Linked DNA regions of Homo sapiens: region 2 is linked to region 1. The links are contacts of gene promoters, found by promoter capture Hi-C in blood cells and fetal thymus (Javierre and others, 2016). All regions are on one chromosome and are shown on one strand. The core of a region is centred on a gene start or on the middle of the fragment in contact, and the rest is flanking DNA. Distances in the headings are between cores, read along the strand shown. Region 1 holds the start of LHX2 (LIM homeobox 2). Region 2 overlaps DENND1A (DENN domain containing 1A).

Region 1 (2,927 bases), core at 159-2,658:
GACCCAGATGGGACTCTGTAACCGAAGTGCTTATTCAGTTTTTGTCTACAATCATTTTATTTCCTAAATCCCTCCCCCACCAGACACCTGGGTATTTCCCTCCAGTCCCCAGGAGACTCTAGGGTGAGCCTGAAACCTGGAGGCTGGGGGTAGCAGTTGGGATTTACCCAGCACGCTACTTTGTTGGCCCCTGGGGAGGTGGTGCAGCCAGGCGGGTAAGGAGGACTCGCGCCATCAGCGGGGTCTGAGACATGGTGTGCCCAGTGGGCAGAGAATAGGCCTGTGGTTTTTAAGAACCTCACTGATATCGAATGTGTCTTGGAGTGAGAAAGTTTTTAATGGAAAAGGAGCAAGAGAGAGTAATGAAATAATTTGCTAAGTGCCTACTATGTTCCAGGCATTTTACATCCACAGTCTCTTTCAATCAACACGTCCATGCGGAGGAGAGCTTCTTGTCGCCCATTATAAAGGTCAGAAACAGGCTAAGGGAGGATAAGTCACTGCCTAAGGTTACAGTGCATGTAAATGGCAGAGCTAGGATTCGAACCCTGGCCTTTCTGAGTTCCTAAAGCCATGCTCGCCCCCACTCTTCCAGGCTGGGGAGAGACCGGGAAGAGCGAGAAGCTACACGCTGGGCTGCAGATTGGGCCCTAGCGGGCTTGGAGCGTGGATATGCTGGCTGGCCCCCCTCCCCGGGAGTCACAGCTCTCGCCGGTCTCGCCACTCAGGCTCTGCCGGGTACCCAGGAGGCTTGCACGGCCGCCTGCAGCCCGCTGTGCAGAGCCCGGGCCGAAGGCGGAGCTCGATGGGAAACGGCCGGCCGAAGGCTCTTGCAACTCTGCCACAGGCCTGCCTTCCCGGGCCTCCCAGGCGGGTGCCTGAGGCCGCGGCTCCAGGCCGAGGGGAGACCGCAGTGAGACGAGCATCCCCTTGCTGCGCCTTCTTAGGATAGAGGGTTTAATTTTCCTTTCTGAAGATATCGCAGGAAGCTGTTCGTATCTTAAAAACTCCAAACCCCGCGCTCTCCCTCCTCCCTGCCTCCCCCCCACCCCCGCCCTCCAGCCTCGCCCACCAGCTCCCACCATCTCGACTCTCCTCTGCTCCTCTTGCCTCTCCCCTCCCTCTTGGGTCTCCCGCCTTCCCGGAGCACGCGCTGCCAGGGCCTGGGGCGCCGAGCGGCCAATGGCACGGCGGCAGGACGTGATGTCAGGCGCGGCTGTAGAAAAGGCGCGGAGGCTTGCGCTGGCGCGGACTGCAGAGCCGGGGCTGGGCTAGGCGCGCGCTTGGAGAGCATTGCGCGCGGCTGGGCCCGCGGCCGGCGGCTCCTCCTCCCACTCTGCTCCTCCTCTTTTTTCTCCTCCTCCACCTCCTCCTCCGCCTCCTCCTCCTCCTCTTCCTCCTCCTCTTCAATTCTCCCGGTGGCTCGACTCGGCTCGCAGGCTTCGGAGAAACCCCTACTCCAGTCGCCGACTCAGCGCCCAAGAGGGTCGCCTTGGGCTGGGGGCGCACCCCAGGGAGGGGAGGGGTCCAGGCAGCTGGGCCGCCGCGGACACCTAGCGGCTTCAGGGTGAACCCCGACCGCAGCCGTCGCCGCCTCGGGCAGAGTTTGCGCCCTTGCTTTGCGCCCCGGGCGCTGAAGCCGGGCGGGCGATGCCCGCGGCGTGAAAGCGCCCGCGGCGGGCGCCGACCTCTGTCCTAGTCTCCTGCTCCCCCCGCCCCGCTTGTCCCGTGCCCTTGTGACCCTGGCTTTGGCGCCGTCGCCCAGGCGCCCCGCAATGTAGCTGCCCCTGCGCCTCGGCGGGAGGCGTCCTGCCCCGCGAGCGCCCGGGGCCCGGAGCCCGGCCTGGGGGCTCAGCCGAGCTCGGGCGGGGCCGGGGCCGCGGTGGCGATGCACCGGGCCCGTTAGCGCCAGGAGCGCCAGGCAGCTGAGGCGGGGGGCAAGCCCTCCCTCGGAGGAGCCGCGCCCCCGGCCCCGCCGGTCCCGCCGCGATGCTGTTCCACAGTCTGTCGGGCCCCGAGGTGCACGGGGTCATCGACGAGATGGACCGCAGGGCCAAGAGCGAGGCTCCCGCCATCAGCTCCGCCATCGACCGCGGCGACACCGAGACGGTAGGCGCGCGGCTGTGGGGTCGGGGCTGAGAGCTGGGATGGGGCCGGGCCAGTCAGCGCCTCTGCTCCCCGAAGTTTGGGGAGCGTCCTTCGTGCCGCACGGGACTGGGTGCTGGGGATCCTCGGTCAGAATGCAAGGCCGGTGGCTCCCGGTTCGGGGGAAACCCGGCTGCTGGGACGCAGAAGGGAAACAAGGTTGAAACCGAAATCTCGGCCCTGGGGGTAGAGGAGAGCGTTTCTTCCGAACTGGAAGCGAAGTCCCATCCGCGGCCCGGGGCGGCTCCCTTCTCACCTTGCCCGGTGCCGGGGTCGACAGCCCCGCGCTCTCCTCCACCTCTCGGCTCCGGTTGCTGGCGGCGCCGCGAGCGGCGCCAGGGAAGGGCGAACCAGCTGGGAGCATTGGGGCTCCAGCCGGCTTGGGCCGCTCCCAGCTTTCCGGCAATCGGGGATCCTCCTCAACCCCCAGCGCAGTTTCAGAGGCCGAAGTCTTCGGGGCCAACATTTGTCGTTGATCGCGTCCCCAGACCCTTGACTGGTCAGACTTAGCCAGGCCAGGGCTGGGAGTTCAGGCTCCGGCCTGGCCCTCGCCGAAGGAGACTCCATTTGGATCTCTACACCTGGCTCCGCGGGCCCAGCCCCAAATAGCCAGTTCCTCGCCTCAGGCCTCCCTGGGGGCCAGACGAGCAGACACTGCCCGACCAGCGGGCCCAGAAGTGACCTTTAGGAGGCCGCGGAGGTGGGGAGCACGGGAGAAGCTTCTCTGCTCCGGGAGCAGGAGCAGCGGCGCCAGTGTCCTCCCGGCCTCTGAGCGCTTCTTC
Region 2 (2,927 bases), core at 314-2,813, 540 kb before region 1:
CATCTGCCGAATGGGGGAGCTACTTCCTACTTCACAGGGCTGTGTGGGGATTGACAATCGAGGCATGGAAAGTGCCTAGTGGGGGGCTTGACTCTTAGCGGAGGGGCTAAGAAAGGATCTGTTTTCCACCCCAAATTAGGATGGTTTCCTGCCCAAAGCAGATGGCAAGTGATTGTACTCAAGCAGCCCCATTTCAGTGCATGTGACACGCGCTACCTGTGCAGGACATGTGACAGGGCAGTGGAGGCGAGACCGCAACGTACAGCAAGAAGAAAAGGAACCTCCACGAAGCTGCCTGCTAGGGCTGGGACGCCGCAGGACATGGCAACTCTCTGTGGCTGCACGTTGACTTCTCGTAAGAACCCTACAAAGACAGGCTCTTGAGCCTCATCTTAGAGAGGAAGGAGCTGTGACTTGACCAAGGCCACAGAGCTGAAGAACCATAGTCGCACTTGAAGTCAGTTCTCTGACCCCAAAGTCCAGGCTCCTCCCACGACACCCCCGAGCTCTGAGCACGCTCAGTTACCCAAACACAGTTTTCCCCTGGGCTTCTAGGAAATCCAAGATATGTCAGACGATTTTCTACACAAAAATGTCCTTTTCCATGTTCTGCAGCTGCAGTCCCAGACCGAGGAATCCAGAATCTCTGGATGGGGATTCTGTACCGCCCAGGGGCTCTGAAGAAATGGGGAAGCAAGTGAATTTCCCTGAGCTCAGTTGCCTCAGCTATAAATTGGGGAAACTACCTACTTCCTATTGTGAGGTTTAAGGTGATATGGTGTGTGTCAAGCTGCCCGTACTTTGGAGCACACAGCAGGTGCTCAGGGGAGATCAACGTCCTTTGTGGCTCTTTTGAGATGCCCTTTGTGAGCTGGGCATCATGTCTTGGATGGGGCCTTCTGTACCTGTCATTCCACAAATATGGGTGACTGAGGTGACTCTGTCCAGGTGGGGTGGGGTCCAAGAAAGGCCACTGGGGGAGGGGGAGGCATAAAAACCAAGGACCAGGAAGAAGCAAGTGCTCCCTAACTGGGAAGCAGGTGGAGGGCCTGGTGGGGCAGCCAGCCGGCGGTTCACAGCGAGGAGCTGTGTCACTGGGGCTGGCGGGCACGTCATGGACAGGGTGAGCAAGGGAGTTGCTGGTTCCCCTCTTCCTCATTTGGGGGCATCTTTCTTGAGAGCCAGAGATCTGAGATGTGGTGGGTGCCAGACCCTCAAAATACACACAAAAATATAGCTCCTCAGCATGTCCGGTACACCCCGCCCAGCCCTGAACAGTGCCTCGAGTGTCCAGGGCAGGACTGCATCGAGGGAAACATGCCCAGGAGGCTTCATTCACTCAGGGCCCCTTGTCCCCCTCAGGCAGCCACTGAGTTGCTCCCATTTCCTTGGCTTTCAGTGCCTGCAGAAGCAAGCAGAGTATGGAGTTGGGGAGAAGCCCCCCAAGGTGTGACCCTGCCCACCCCGCCCACCGCGGCTCCTCATTCCCCAAACTTCCTGCATTCCCATAACACGGGGCCAGCCACGGTTCTCCAGGTAGGTCTGTAAGTCTCCTGCCTTTGTGTGTGCTGGGCCCTCTGTGGGGAGGCCACTCAGGCTGGGGAGTCCCCCTTGCCCTTCACCCTTGGAGGATTAACCCAGGGCAAGCTGCCCTGGGATGCTTCCTCCTTGCCCGGGGCTGGGTCAGTGTCCCTCCTCTGGGCTCTGCAGCCCTACGCTCACCTCTGCTGTAGCATTTATTGCCATGCATTACATTGCCTGGCTGCCGGTCAGATCCTTACTAGATGGTGACCTCCTCAGGGGCAGGCCGTGTCTGACTCGCCTCTGCACCTCCAGCTTCTAGCCCCATGCCTGGGTCAGAGCAAGCGCTCTGATGCTTGTTGCATGAATTATTCTACTGCAAATCAGGCAACAGGAACATTTCTGAAGAAGAGGCACACAGGGTGGAGAGCCAGACAGGCTGACTGAGGATGTAAGGAGGAGGGGTGCAGGGAGGGATGGAAAAGAGAGAATGTATGTGTGTGCTGGGAGGGGCAGGGGAGGGCGGAGGGAGACAGGGAACACCGTTTAATTAGACCACATGTGCAGAGCAGCATCTGGCTCCAAGCGCAGCCGTTTACACCGCTCCTGGAGTTGTCGTGGAGACAACCACATGACCAGCCTGGAGCCGAGACTCAGGGGCAGCAATCCAGATGCACCCCTAACATATTCTGACAGAGAGCAGATGGGCAGCTATTTGCAGGGCCAAAAAATGCCAACTCCGCTCCTCTCCAGACCTGTGTGCCCTCACTGATCATTTTCATCTTGTAAAGTCATTCTTATCTGCCCTGGAACCACCCGTTCCTCTTGTGTAGGAAGCAGTATGAGGGCTGCTATTTTTGTAGTTCTCTGACCACCACAACTTTCGGCCTGTTCCTCTGGTGAGATGTCACCACCTATAATGAGGGGGTCCTCCAGGGCCAGGCTCCCCTGCTGGCTTCCCATCCCAGTCTCTTTCTCCACTAAAAGTCCCTAAATCTCCGTTTAGGCCCCATCTAAGAGATCCAGGCCTTGGAGCAACACTGCGCCCAGTATGGGGAGGACGCAGGCTTCGGTGGCTGAGCTTCTGCTCTGCTGGTATTGGCCATGGGTTTGCACTCAGCCTCTCCAAGCTCAGGGTTCCGCTCTGTAAAATGGGGTAACGTTTACTTTCTTTCTTTTTTTTTTTTTTTTTTTTTTTTTTGAGATGGAGTCTCGCTCTGTCTCCCAGGCTGGAGTGCAATGGTGTAATCTTGGCTGACCGCAACCTCTGCCTCCTGGGTTCAAGTAATTCTCCTGCCTCAGCCTCCTGAGTAGCTGGGATTACAGGCATGCACCACCATGCCGAGCTAATTTTTGTATTTTTAGTAGAGATGGGGTTTCACAATGTTAGTCAGGCTGGTCTCGAA

Evidence for each region. The method cuts DNA at HindIII sites, captures the fragments that hold promoters and counts their contacts. A CHiCAGO score of 5 or more calls a contact.
Region 2: a fragment that was not itself captured here is called in contact with the fragment with the promoter of LHX2 in region 1 in 2 of 17 cell types (erythroblasts and megakaryocytes); the score reaches 6.8 in erythroblasts.

What each region holds. Positions count from the first base shown.
Region 1 is chr9:124,010,360-124,013,286 of GRCh38, forward strand. It overlaps LHX2 (LIM homeobox 2), which reads left to right and starts at 1,409. Exons shown (of 5, transcript NM_004789.4): 1 at 1,409-2,109. The coding sequence starts at 1,990. RefSeq lists a silencer at 1,333-1,382 and enhancers at 2,321-2,893, 2,894-2,927. The HindIII fragment of the contact is 7,434 bases long and covers 1-2,862 here.
Region 2 is chr9:123,471,291-123,474,217 of GRCh38, forward strand. All of the region lies in intron 13 of DENND1A (DENN domain containing 1A), which reads right to left. Among named protein-coding and RNA genes, the nearest start is that of MIR7150, 13 kb to the right of the region's middle. The HindIII fragment of the contact is 3,591 bases long and covers 1-2,927 here.